Regions from separate parts of the Homo sapiens genome. Here region 2 is linked to region 1. The links are contacts of gene promoters, found by promoter capture Hi-C in blood cells and fetal thymus (Javierre and others, 2016). All regions are on one chromosome and are shown on one strand. The core of a region is centred on a gene start or on the middle of the fragment in contact, and the rest is flanking DNA. Distances in the headings are between cores, read along the strand shown. Region 1 holds the start of SRY (sex determining region Y). Region 2 overlaps LINC00278 (long intergenic non-protein coding RNA 278).

Region 1 (7,430 bases), core at 3,049-5,548:
GTTGGGGTGATAGTTACTCAGGCATATGCATTTGCCAAAGTTCATGCATCTATAAATAAAAGATCTGTGCACAATATCTCATGAAGATTTTTACTCTTGACATTATTACATAGTCCAATATGAAATAAAATATTAATTAAATTTCTTGAAATACTAGAACTCTGATAACTACCTTTTGTTTCTACACCTTGTAGAAACAAATCTTTGTGGAACAGATTTGGAACAAATATGGAAAATTAATGTATTTCACATCAGTAAAATCGTGACATTGGGAAAAACATTACCCACTTCAATGCCTAATGAAATAATGTCTAATCAATCATGAATATCTACATTACTCTTCACTAAGATATTTTTTAGATGGAGCAATTACTTTCAGGTTAATAATAGCAAATATTTAGTTAATTCTTCACTAATGCTGATGTCTGTTCTAAGTATTTCTTTTTTTCTTTTCTTTTCTTTTTTTTTTTTTTTTTTTGTTGAGATGGAGTCTTGCTCTGTCGCCCAGGCTGGAGTGCAGTGGCGCCATCTTGGCTCACTGCAAGCTCCATCTACTGGATTCAAGCCCTCTCCTGCCTCAGCCTCCCAAGTAGCTGGGACTACAGGCGCCCGCCACCAAGCCTGGCTAATTTTTTGTATTTTTAGTAGAGACGGGGTTTCACCATGTTAGCTAGGATGATCTCAATCTCCTGACCTCGTGATCCACCCACCTTGGCCTCCCAAAGTGCTGGGATTACAGGCGTGAGCCACTGCTCCCAGCCTGTTCTAAGTATTTCTTATATACACTCACTTATTTAATGCTTGTGTACCTTAATTCATGTAGCCTTCACATCTCTTCATGGGTTGGTTTTATTAGTAAATAGCATTTCAACTAACAAAATTATTACAGAATTGAAAAAACTGAGACTCAGACAGCGAAGTAAATTGTTCAAGCTCAAGCCTGTAAGTGGCACTCAAGTGAGCCAAAGCTGAAGGGTTTACCTTCCAGAGCCTGTGTTCTTTATTCAGTACCAAGCTCCCTCTTAATGTATTTTAAGTGTTGGCATTTTAAAATATAGCAAACATCCATTGGCAGCCAAAGCACACTTGATACTTATAGTTAGAATTTGTTTGTTTATTGATGTTTGTTTAAACATCACAAAAATACAAAAATGCTTCATTTCAGTAATTCCTAAGTAAACCATACATAAAGTATCAATTCCTCTCCTGGGAGTGTGCTTCACAGAAATTCTTATAAATGTTCTCCATTGTACATGTATAAGAATGTATAAAAAAGCACTGTTTGTAATAATTGAAACCAGTAAGTGTCCATTCATTTGTCCAACAAAAATAGAATGAAATACGCACAACAATTTTTTCTTAAAAATTCTAGTTTGGGCAGCATATACACTAAAATTAGAATGGTATGGAGAAGAATAACACTGTCCCTGGGCCAGGAGGGTATTCAAATGTGAAGTCTTTCATATTTTTGGGAGTAGAATTGTGGCTACCCTCTAGTAGGGTCAGGTGAAGAGATGAGTATTGTTATTCAAAAATTATAATATTTCATCTAGATAGAAGCAATTAGTTCAGATCTATTGTAAAGCATGTTGAATATAGGTAATAAGAATGTATTGTATGCTTGAAAATTGCTAAGAGAATACAATTTAAATGTTCCCAGTGCAAAAGGAAAGGGAAGTATATGAGGTAGTAGATACATTAGCTTGATTTAGTCTTTCCAAAATGTATACATGCATGATGTCATAATTTTTAATAATCTGAAAACCACCAAAATGTATTAAGCAAAAGAAGCTCCACATAATATTTTGTATTTATATTTATTCACATTGTTAAGGAAAAATGGTATTCAGTGATACTTGTTCAAACTTGATAAGGAAGACTATTCACGACCAACAGCACAGCAATGAGGTCTTGCACTGGGGGAGAGATTGGCCTTAGCTCCACATACACAGCTGGGTAGGTGGGGATTTATAGCCAAGGAGCAGGGAGTAGGGTCAATGGATGGACAATCACTAAGAGAAGACATCATAGATAAGGAGGATTCTTGCTGAAGACAGGCTAGGCTGATCAGACATCACCTAGAGGGTGGTGGAGGATGAGAAACCTGATCAGATATTGAGGGTGATCGATCAAGTGTTGAGTGTGATCAGATATGCGGTGGGGGTACAGTCTGGCTAACCTGGCTTAGGAGAGTTCTTTGCCAAAACTGAGTTTGGCAAGGAAGTGCACAGGCGAGTCTAGGAGAAGGTTCAGAAACCTGACTAAAGTTTGGTCAAACAGAGAATCTGTGTCAGAGGTTCAAGAAAAGGAAAATTAATGTATGGTAATGAAGGTCAGAATGGGTGTTATTTTTGGGAGAGTGAAAAGAGTGGTTTTAAATATTACAAAGTAGTTTTGAGTCAGTGTTTAAAAGGTAATGGGCAATATACAGTTCTCATTTGGCATAAAGCTCAGATTAAGTAATATTGTCTCTGGAATAAAGCTTTTTTTAAACCCTGAACTTTGAGAAACATGACATCCATCTCTAATATACACTCTTTTAGTGTTTGAGTTTTATTATTTAAGGTAATGTCTCTGAAAAGTTTTGAAATATTGGAAAGCTGACTTTGATACATACCATTAATTTTGACTTTTGATTTATTTTTATTGTAGAAAAATTTATTTGTAATTTATACTTTAAACTGTGGTTTACAGTTATTTGTAAACTTCTAGTTTCCTGCTTTAGCTTATGTGCAAATTTTATGAAGTCTTGGCATTACATTTTTATTTAAATCCCATCAAATTAAACCAGTTGGGTCACCAGCCCCCGCCCTTCCATCTCCATAATCTGGGTAGTCGGCGTTCTCAACATTCCTGTTGAGAATGAAAATTCTGTATTTTTCATTCCACAGGCTTAAAAGTTAATAGGCCATGGAAACAAGTAGATTGCCATTTTAAAAGATAGTTTTCAGAAGAAAGGCAAAATGATAAGTTTCATAGAGATACAAAAATGACAAGGAATTAAATATTTTGTTTTACCAGAGGCATTTTATAACTAGTTGAAAGGAAATGTCAACCGTTTGGATTTATATGGAGTAAAGGAACTGAATTGCAAGTGGAGGTAAAACTGGTTTTTTCCACAGCGTGAAGGGGAGAGAAAGAAACAAGTTTGATCCTGCTTACATATCCATTCCTTAGTTACCTGCAATTTATAGACACGTACAAAGTAGCTGAAAGACCAATGAATACACGGTCTAGAGAGGACTGCTTAACACGCTGCATATAGAAGTGTGATTTTTTTTGGTACAATTTTCAAGTGTGTTTCTCATTAGAGCATTTAAAGTAAGCCACAGTGTCCGTTTGTATCAAGTTAGTACTCTGACGGCCACAAACATAGGCAGGCTCACTTCTGGATGTCTTATTTCTTTGCATGTTAATCGTGTTGACACAACTTGTCTTGAAATTAAGTTTAAAATGAAATACCAGTAAAACTGAAATGAATAAGGCCTTTATTAGCCAGAGAAAAGAAAACAATATTGAAACTAAACATAAGAAAGTGAGGGCTGTAAGTTATCGTAAAAAGGAGCATCTAGGTAGGTCTTTGTAGCCAATGTTACCCGATTGTCCTACAGCTTTGTCCAGTGGCTGTAGCGGTCCCGTTGCTGCGGTGAGCTGGCTGCGTTGATGGGCGGTAAGTGGCCTAGCTGGTGCTCCATTCTTGAGTGTGTGGCTTTCGTACAGTCATCCCTGTACAACCTGTTGTCCAGTTGCACTTCGCTGCAGAGTACCGAAGCGGGATCTGCGGGAAGCAAACTGCAATTCTTCGGCAGCATCTTCGCCTTCCGACGAGGTCGATACTTATAATTCGGGTATTTCTCTCTGTGCATGGCCTGTAATTTCTGTGCCTCCTGGAAGAATGGCCATTTTTCGGCTTCAGTAAGCATTTTCCACTGGTATCCCAGCTGCTTGCTGATCTCTGAGTTTCGCATTCTGGGATTCTCTAGAGCCATCTTGCGCCTCTGATCGCGAGACCACACGATGAATGCGTTCATGGGTCGCTTCACTCTATCCTGGACGTTGCCTTTACTGTTTTCTCCCGTTTCACACTGATACTTAGAGTTACAGCTTTCAGTGCAAAGGAAGGAAGAGCTTCTCCGGAGAGCGGGAATATTCTCTTGCACAGCTGGACTGTAATCATCGCTGTTGAATACGCTTAACATAGCAGAAGCATATGATTGCATTGTCAAAAACAAGGAGAGTGCGACAAAATTGAAAGGTGCCAGAGTTCGAAACTTATTTTACTATCCAAAACTCACTTCTACCAGATTCTTTGTTACGTTAACTTTTGTAATGAAACTTGCATTTCTCCGCCCTCAACACCCCCTCAACCCCGCCCAACCAGCCTACCCCCTAGTACCCTGACAATGTATTCATTCTCAAGCAAAACATGGTAATTCAGTAACGTTGACTACTTGCCCTGCTGATCTGCCTCCCTGACTGCTCTACTGCTGTCCTGAAAAATGCGAATTTGACTTAATCGCCAATTTTTTCATTGACCTTTTATGTCACAAAACGAGAGGACACAAAAAGCTATATGAATTGTTTATCATTATCAATATATGTGTATGTTATCTTTAAAAAAACAAAGCTTAATGAGAACCTAATTGTCTTAACCACACACATACATACATAACTGCATATTGAATTTATAGTAATTATTATCGCTTTTTCTTCACTTCTATTTAAAAATTGAAAATTCTATACACATTTTTCACAGGCATTAAGTATCAGAATATTAGCATATACTTACAAGTATTTTATGCCCAACTTCTAGGATGGCTAACATTTGACTTTTAGAAAAGTAATTGTTTCGTTTAGAGAAAAAAAAATATGACCTAAGAACTCAAAACAGTTTCAGTGAAGTGTTAAGCTACACTAAAAAGGGGACACAATTCTTTTCTTTGCAGATTGTATAGTGGGATATTTTGAAGTCATTCTCTTCACTGTCACACAATTAGCAATTTAAAAAACAATCTTTTACAAGTCTAAATTAAATTTCCATTCACAACAAATAGAGCCATCAATTTATCATATTTCACCTTTTAGTTCAACCTCCTTCAAAATTTAAAGGTCACAGTTTACCAGACTAAACAAGTGAATAACTCTCCTCAATAAATCTTAAAGTCTGAAGAGAAATGACAAGATTTCTTTGCTGAAATAAAATGGGAGGAAAGTCCCCCCACTCACCAATGTTTTAATGCCATATTTGCAAAACAGGAGTAACAACTACAGGTTGCATAGTACACAGAACCTATTAATAAAAATAAACTCTCAGCAAAACTGAATGATGCCACAATTCCTAAGACAACAAAATAAAAATCCCGTAAAATATGAAAAGAGTTCATAGAACCAAATGTGGTTGGTTTGTCCAGTAAATGTTATAATGAATTAATATCAGAAACTTTAAAAAATTATATTCCATGAAAAGAAAAATATGAAAACTGTAATTTGTATCCTAGTTATCTACTAAAGTTTAGTATCTAAGATACAAAATTTAGTATTCATTATACAAAGTGGAAATATAGTTGGCTCAAGTTAAAACATGTATCTGGATAGCAAATAAAATGGTTAAATTGCAGTCATACACAGAAACAGATTTTCTACAACAGGAAATCCCTTACAAGATGAGAAAAAACATACCATTTCAAAACCTGACATGAAAATAGCAAAAAATGACACAAGGCACCACATAGGTGAACCTTGAAAATGTTACACTGTGTGAAAAAGTCAGATACAAGAGGCCAGATACTGAATGATCCCATGTATATGAAATATCCAGGAAAGGCAAATGAATAGAGACTAAAACCAGATTAATGGTTGCTAAGGACTGGATGAAAGAGGTTGTGGGGAGTTACTGCTGGTGGATGCACGGTTTCTTTTGAGGATTGATAAAATATGCTCTGGAACTAGAGAGAGGTGATGGCTGCACAACATGGTGAACCAAAGAGTCAGAGAAACTGAAGTCCAAATAAGGAGTTTGTTGGCAGTTTTAGAACTGTAATTAGAGAAACAGATTCCAGAAGCATCTGACATTGTGTCGTGACCGGCTGTTTTGAGAGACAGTTTTTAAAGGAAATAAGAGAAAGTTGGTACTCATTAGGTTACTTACAACCTATTATCTTAATTGGTAATGAAGGGTTATCTTAACAGTTCATGAGTTTCTACGCAAAAGTCCTTGAATCAGTGGTTTGGGTAAAAAGTCAGTTTTCACTATGAAGTCTTTTAATAAGTGGCAGCAATTTTTGTCTGCAGAATCTGCAAGTACATTTTGCAGTCAGGCAGTTGCAAGATGGGTTTCAAAAACAAAATGTTGTTGCTATGGTTAGGTCTTGTTGCCTTCGTTCCCCGGTACTACTGAATCGTCCAGTTTAAGAGGGATAAAGTGGCGTCGCACAGGAGCGAGGATGGAGAGCGGCGACTAGGCGGCTATGGAGAGGTACAGCGTCCAGTTGCGCCCAGCCACACTGCAGGACGCCGCCCCCGCCACACTACACCTGATACCCTGCGGCCCACCACGGTGTGGCGCTTCATCACGCCTGCCATCCGCCAGGGCCCCGAGGGACTCTTAAGTGTAGTTTCGGGGCCGCAGTCTACGGGGCGACGAGGTGGCAGTGCCGTCCGGCCTCGTGGGATACGTGATGGTGACTGAACAGGAGGAGGTGTCGATGGGGAAGCCAGACCCCTGGCGGGGTTCCGGGAGTGACAACCAAGAAGAGGAACCTCTGGAGCGGGACTTTGACCGCTTCCTCGGAACCACTACCAGCTTCAGCCGCTTCACCCTGTAGGGCATGGGGCTTCACCCTGTGGGGCACCCTGTGGGGCTTCCTTGGCCCGGAAGCCAAACTGCGTGGGGCCTTAACTTGGCCCAGCCTCGCGGCAACGATTCACGCGCAGGTGCCCAAGGACACAGAACCAGAGCTTGAAATTCAAAGCCGCGAACCCTTTACAGCAGTAAACCAGCTCCTTACTTTGTAGCCACTGGTTCCATCACCCCAGTAAAGGAGTTCTTCACAGCACACATTCACAAAAGATAAAGTGGTGAATTTTATATTCTTATATACATATGTCCAACCATCTATATGTTTTTAAGAAGGCAAAAAAGACCTCCCAGATGCATATATTACAGGACGGGGTGTGTGAGGAGACTCACTTGGGGGTGGCAGTCAACAAAATTTAAATAAAGACACGAGATTTTATTATTTTTCTGTCTACAGCTCCTAGGATAGTGTGTGACATGTAGTAGGTTCTCAGTATACTTCTCTGGTACTTAAATTAATGAAATGTGTAAACATGCCTCTGGGTTCAGAAAAACAAACTCAACCACTTAAAAAAAAAAAAAGGAAAAAAGTGTTGGTTCTCCTGTAAAGTAATAAACCTACATGCAAAAATAA
Region 2 (7,430 bases), core at 3,644-6,143, 320 kb after region 1:
TTATCAAAAATGATTTCAGAGGAAAATATGATAGTGGTCCTGCTTATCTGTGGGGCATAGGTTCCAAAATACCTAGTGGATGCCTGAAACTACTGTTAATACTGAACCCTATATGTAGTATGTTTTTTCCTGTGCACACATCTATGATGATATTTAATTTATAAATTAGACGCCATAAGATATTAACACTAACTGATAAAATAGAAGTCATAATAATATAATACACTGTAATTAAAGTTATGTGAATGTAGTTCTCTCTCTCTCTTTCTCTCTCTCTCAAAATATCTTATTTCTCTGAAAATATCTTATTGTATGTAATATGTTCACACTGCAGTTGATGGTGGGTAACTGAAACCCCAGAAAATGAAAACAAGGGTAATGGAAGACTACTGTACCTTAGAGATAGATTAGTGTTAAATATGTGCCAACATAGAAAACTGTCTCATTTACACAAATTCAATATAGTATTTTCTCTTAAAGCAAAAGGAGCTAATAATATTTTCTGTAGTGACTACTACTTCTTAATAGTGTAGCTTCTTTTTTTTGATAACCATTTTTCTTAGAGCTATTTGAAGACACTATTCAAGTAGTATAACAAAGCAAAAAGCAAATGTGTATGCTCTGTTAAAAGACAATGAAAGTTATACAGAAGAGCTCCTTTTATAACAAATAATTTTGCATAACATAACTACTCTTAAAGCAATACTAATCATACAAAACTTCTATTATTGATTTATAAGCATGACAAATAGCCATTATACTTTTTGGTGTTTTTGCTATCTTCTTTTGGATTTTATTTTCTGTTCATGTTTTGTAAGGTATGTTTTCTGTCATTTTAATTACTTTTAACAAAATCACATCCGGGTGCACTTTTTATTAAATAAGCATTTAGTTCTGGTCTCTGCCTCAAAGAGCCGAAGTTGAGTTGTAATATTTGCTTTAATGTTCAAGTTTTTACCTTGTAGGATAGTGATGAGTTCTGGGTTTGTGTAGTAGACAGAATAATGCTCTCAAAAGATGCCCACAATCTAATCCCCAAAACCTGTGAATATGTCACCTAGCATGGCAAAAGAGACTTTTGTACATTATATGTTATTTTCATGTCTTTAAGTGTAATTAGCTAAAATATTGTTTAGTTTTCCACTGTTTGTCTTTACCAATGATCAGTTTAACAGTTTTTCTATTATGGAGATTTAGATTGACATCAACATTTGCTATTAATCATTTATTATTTCTTCCTTTCTGAAAGCTGAATTTCTGGAACAAGAGATATAGATTAAGACTGTTGTTACATGTTGCCTACATGACTTTCAAAAGCTTGATTCCCAGTGGCGCTCTCAACAGCAGTCATAAACAATGGTAATTCAATGTATATTTATATTCAACTGATATATTAATTGGAATATATTAAAAATACGTATATTTATATTCAGAATATTTATATTGAAAATATGAATATGGTGTGTGTGTGTGTGTGTGTGTGTGTGTGTGTGTGTATCCCATTATTTCCCTAACACTAGATCAGGGCTTTTTAACTATGGTGATTTTACACACCCCTATTCTCCAGAAGACGTGTTATTTATGGAGACATATTCAATGGTCAAAACTGCGTGGATGATGTTAGTAGGCAGATGCCATGGATGCTGTGAAAGGTCCTACAATGCATAGGTCAGCCCCCCACCACAAATAATTATCTAACTCAAAATGCCAATAATCTCCAGATTTAGAAACCCTATTCTTCCTAATGAATAGTCATATTTTACCATCTTTAAAAATTGAGAGCCATGTGACAGAATTATTTTGGCATTCCCTTTCTCAGAAGAATGTTAAACATATTTTGCTCACTCTTTCTGAGTGATTTCACCACAGACACTACTTGCATCTGTTCCCACTTAACTTTTTAGCATCAAACCAAATATAGCATTTCAAAAACTAGTTACTTTTTCTGAATTAAATAAAATAAAAACATGATTTAAGCTGTGCCTTCAGATTTAAAATAACAGAATGCCTTTTCACATTGACCATAGTATATATGTACATAATACTTTCAAATATCTTTAAAATTTTCAGAGGTTACTTTTCTGGTAGAAAGTTTTATCTTTATATATGGCTGTGTGTGTGTCTGTCTGTGTGTTTGTGTGTGGTATATGATATATGTATGTGTGTGTGTTGATATGTATGTGACACATAAAATCATATGTAGCTTTTAACCATTTAAAAGGATCATAAAACCTACAACCATTTAACAATCATACTATTTTTTTAAAAATAGATGATTATTCATAGTCTTGAAACATTTCATTTGCTTTCATGAATCTCATTCCCTTCAACAACCCTGGAAAGAGCAACTTTCCTGGAATCAGCATATATAACATTCTTGATTTTCTTATTAGTTTACTCAACAATATCTGCAAGATACATTCATCCATATTCTTGATATATATGTAGGTTATTTATTTTCACTGCTCTGCAGTTCTCTACCATATGAAAATAGCACAATTATATCGATGTATCCCCTGGCTAGTGGTTATTTTGGTTGCTTCTATTTTTTTGATGTTACAAATAATGATGCTATGAACATTATGTGCACATTTTCTATTGAACATGGGAGTATCTCTTCAGCAGCAATCTTCAAACTTTTTTCTTTAATACAACTGAAAAAAACTATGTCCACTTCACATATGTTTGGGTTGGTGTCTAAATATTTTTATGTAAAAGAATTGCAAAAATATTTAATTTCTAGCATACTATAAATGTGTCTTAAAAATGTGTTTTCCTCAAACCCTTAAAGCTATAGCTTTATCTCATACAATTTGGGAAAATGTCTACTATATACTCTAATTGGCAAAACAGTTCCCACTCTGAGAATCAAAAATTACTTGCATTACCAATAAGAATAATTTCACTTTTGAACTCCAATAAAGCTTAAGATGCCCATTAAACATCTCATTTTTAAAGATTCCTGGGTAGATACAGTATGCAGATATATAAATGATTGATAGAGTGATTGATTGAAACAGACAAAAATTTTTGATAGTAGTTTTGTACTTAGGTGAAATAAAGGCAATATTTTTTACACATCTTTTTAGTTTGCTTTCACAATAAAAATCTTCCTCAGAAACTTTGTATGCTCATACTGTTTCCTTGTAGGATGCTCTACAGATTGGTACACTCTAATGTACTATTGTAATGTTCCAGATAGGAGAAATGGCTACCTTTATTTTGTTAAACTGGAGATTGGCAGCTATGACTGAGGACTTGCAAAAGCGGAAACAGGGACTTCTCAGTGAGGTCAATATTTGGAGGAAATATGTATAGAAACTGAAGATCTGTCTGAGTTTACCCCTGAGGTACATTATAGCATACATGAGTTTGAATATTTATTCTTTAATGTACATATTTGGTTATGGAGTTGTTTAAGCATCAGCTGTTTGGAAATTCTGCTTTGCCAAGATATTTCTAACTTGCTTTTTAGAACAGTTGTAACATTTTACATTTCCATAGCTCCCTTGGCTTCACATGATTGAGTAATACTTTAAATCAGATTGTAAATGTATTACGCAGTGGTTTTAATTTCCTGATTAGTAATGAGATTGTAACTGAACTCAGGTTCAGTTGTTTGCCAATTGAAAGCCAAAACTTGAGAGGCAAGCGTTGGTGGAAGAGAAAAGCAGGTTTATTCAGGACCTGACAATCCAAGGAGATGGTGGACTTGCATAGCAAAGACCATCTCAAGTTTCTCAGCCTGGACATAGGGGTTTTAAAGGGGAAAGGGCTTGGGAAACTATGTGCAGGAGTTAGCTATGCATTTCAGAATGTCTTTTTCCAACGACTGTCATGAGGAATGGGCATCAAGAGGTGTAGCTGGCATCATCCAACCTCTAATAAGATTGAAGATTAACTGCTCAGTATTTTTTTTCCATTAAGAACATTTCACAGCCTTGGTTTTATCTTGGGGTTAGTTCTTGGAATTCTTAAGCAAGCACACAATTAGGTATCGTAAAAGAAAGAATAGTTATTTGTTTCCAAAATGGAATGACTGCATCAGTTACAAGATGATCACCTTTATATGTTATTGCTATTCAGATTTTCTCTTCCATAAAATACTTGTTTGCATCTTTTGCCTGCAGTTTAATTGGGTGGTTTGACATTTTGGTTTATATGAATTTCTTAATATGTTATGGACATTAATCCTACACTGGTTTTTTATGTTGCAAAGATCTGCTCTCAGCGTGAAAATTCTTTTTATGGCGTCTTTTGATGATGAAAAGTCCACAATTCAAAATAGATTAACTTATCAATACTTACTAGTTTCTTTTACTTAAGTATGTTATTTCTCTTAAAAATTATCTATATATCAGAAAAATACCTCCATTTATATTCCTGAAAAAATTATTTAAATTTGCCTTTCATATTTAAGTCTCTGATATACTGGAAATTAACTTTTGCATATGTCATGACGGATACACTATTTTGCTTGCTTTATAGTTTCCGGATAAATACTTATCTCAGGGCCACTGACTGACTAGTCTATACTTTTACCTCTATACAATATCTGGTGTTCATATTTTTGCAGGTCTATTTCTTGACTCTCTAACGTGTTTTTAGCTTTCAATCCTTGCACTCACACCATGCAGTGTTAATTGCAATTGTTTGATAGTAAATTTTAATCACTGCTATAGCAAATTTTCGTATCTTATTTCTTCTGGGTTATACTTGGCTCTTTGGCCTTTGGTTCCTTGACTGTACTTCCATTTAAAATTTCAGGATTGACTTCAGTTAAAAATAATCTGTAAGAATTGTTCAAATTTAAGCTTGAATTACCAGAAATATTTCACTTTTTGCATTAAATGCATCTCATGATTATTGATATGTAATATTATTTTATTTTCTTCAATTCTAAAGATCACTTATTCCCCACTGGGATTTTTTATTTAGCATTAATTTATGTAGAAAAGTGTTTTTAAAATTCCAAGCTTATGATATTGTGAGTTATCTTTGTATTATTTAAAAATTAATAACATTGCAGTTAGATATTATTATGTGTATGAAATTAATATTGGAAAACCACTGAGAATTGCTCTATTTCCTATTATATTGTTGATTTTCATGAATGTTTCCTGTTTCTTGAAACTGTATATTCGTCAGTTCTTTGGTATAGTGTTCTATATATACTCATTTGATCATTCTTACTATATGTTACCCAAATATTCTTAATCACAATTTTTACCTGTTTCACCCATCAATTACTGAAAGATATGTTTTTAAATCCTCACTGATGTAGTAACTTTCAGCATATTTTGCACATATACAGATGCTCCTTGATTTATGATAGATTTATGCCCTGATAAACTCATAATAACTCAAAAATTTTGGAAATCACAATGCATTTAATACCCCAGTAAACACATTGTTAGTAAAAAAAAATATTAAGTTGAACTATCATAAGTTCAGCTGTTCCTTGACTTACAATGAGGTCACACCCCAATAAACCCATCACAAATGCAAAAAATCATAAGTTGAACCATAGTTAAGTAGAGGTCATCTGTATATATTTATAACTATATATCAATATAAACATAGATATAAGTATGTGTGTACATGCATGAATGTATATCATACAGATCTGTCAGGTTAGAACTATTATATTAATATCTTCCTGACAAATTGAACCCCATCATCTCTTGTTCACTGGGCCTTGAAATTTATTTTATCTGATTTTAATATAACCAAAGTAGCTCTTTTTTAATTAGTATTTGCCTGCCATATTATTTTGTATTATTTTACTGTAACAATTCCTGTTTTCTTGTGGTTTTGGTAAAACCTCTGAACACTGCATATAGATTTAAAATAATTCTGTAGATCTACTGGCATCATTTTTGTAGATATATGTTAACTTGTTTCTAATTCCAATTTTTTCAATTTTCCTCTTTTTAAAATTTCAGCTTTCATTGAGGAGTATAACACATGTATAGGAAATTGCACAAAATTTATATATATTCTTTTAGGGATAACTTTAAAAGATAAATCTGTGAAACCAGAATCTAGGACAATATATTTTTTTTTTTACGTGAAACCCAGTGAACCACAGTTATTTTATTAGTTGGGTATTTTTTTATGGCCCAGGGTTGCACAAAATTACAAAACAATTTATTTGCTACCCCACCAAATATAAAATAATGGGGCTGGAACAAAATCATGACAATAAAAATTTCCCATTCAGAATAAAGGAGAATGAAAGATTCATAGCAATTATGCAATGCTGCTGGATAGGCAATTTGAAGGCCCTTTTCCTTGGCGGTGGGGTAATTTCTTTGTTTAGACTGATTCTTCTTTTAAGAAAAACTATATTTTATGGTACTCACCAGGATTCCAGCTCTACGCTCAGCATAATTCTTTCTCATTTATTATCTTTTGTGGCCTCATCATAGGAAAAATGTACATATATTAAGATTTTAAATAAATGAATAATTCTAGATGTGGAAAGGTTATCATTATAATTAGTTATAACTATAATATTATAATAATACAAAGATCTGAATGAATGGCTTCTCCCAGATAATATTGTATTGAAAGTATATATATACCTTTTAAAAAATGAACATAATTAAGTTGCTCTAATGGAAGAAAAATCACACCTCGTTTTGCACCATGTACATCAATTGACGTTTGATAATAAAGTGCAGATTTTCACACACAGCACACAGCAACACCTTGGTCACCTTATCATTCCATCCAATCTGTGATATTAAGATTGTATATGATCTCTTAAGATTTATTCAGCTCATTATATATTCCCCCTGAAAGAAAGTGGGGATGGTAGACTCTCCCATTCATTTCTCTTAATTTTTGCACAGAATGCCCTTCATTGTGATACATACATTGCACTATCCTCCTAGATCATTACATGTGAGATGCAAAAGTTCCTTTTACCCAAATTTCAGTCATTTATAATTTTTAAATTTATTAGTTAAAAGTATAATAGTTATTTCTACTTTTTAGTAGCATTTGAAGATAAGAGACAAATACCTTACCCAGAATTATCTGGATGATTCAGTTAAATTTGTTAACTTTATTATGTGATAGGCCATTGAATTTTCCTGCACTGTAATATGAATTGTGTAGATAAAAACATTTACTCAAATGCAGCTCTAGCCTCACTTATATTTTCTATTCTATTTTATATTTTAAAAAACTAAATGTAATTTCCATAAGAGCTGTATGGAAACACAGCTGCCAGAGAGCATGGCATAATGTGGACAAGTGACACTGGGAGGGAACAGTCAGAAATTAGGTCAGTTTTCCAGTCCAAAAGCTTTGCTGGGGAGAATGAAAATGGGAAACAGAAAAAAGCAGGGGTTGCAATCCTAATTTCAGATAAAACAGACTGTAAACCCACAAAGATCAAAAAAGACAAAGGAGAGTCTTAC

Evidence for each region. Contacts are between HindIII fragments. The CHiCAGO score rates a contact against its expected background, and 5 or more counts as called.
Region 2: a fragment that was not itself captured here is called in contact with the fragment with the promoter of SRY in region 1 in 5 of 17 cell types (M0 macrophages, non-activated CD4 T cells, M2 macrophages and 2 more); the score reaches 8.5 in M0 macrophages.

The regions. Positions count from the first base shown.
Region 1 is chrY:2,783,384-2,790,813 of GRCh38, forward strand. SRY (sex determining region Y) reads right to left here and starts at 4,299. Exons shown (of 1, transcript NM_003140.3): 1 at 3,472-4,299. The coding sequence starts at 4,220. The coding sequence ends at 3,606. It also overlaps the pseudogene RNU6-1334P and the pseudogene RNASEH2CP1. RefSeq lists promoters at 4,221-7,430, 4,317-6,291, 4,317-4,630. The HindIII fragment of the contact is 2,145 bases long and covers 2,481-4,625 here.
Region 2 is chrY:3,100,836-3,108,265 of GRCh38, forward strand. It overlaps LINC00278 (long intergenic non-protein coding RNA 278), which reads left to right. Exons shown (of 4, transcript NR_046502.1): 4 at 1,250-1,437. Among named protein-coding and RNA genes, the nearest start is that of LINC00278, 100 kb to the left of the region's middle. The HindIII fragment of the contact is 162 bases long and covers 4,813-4,974 here.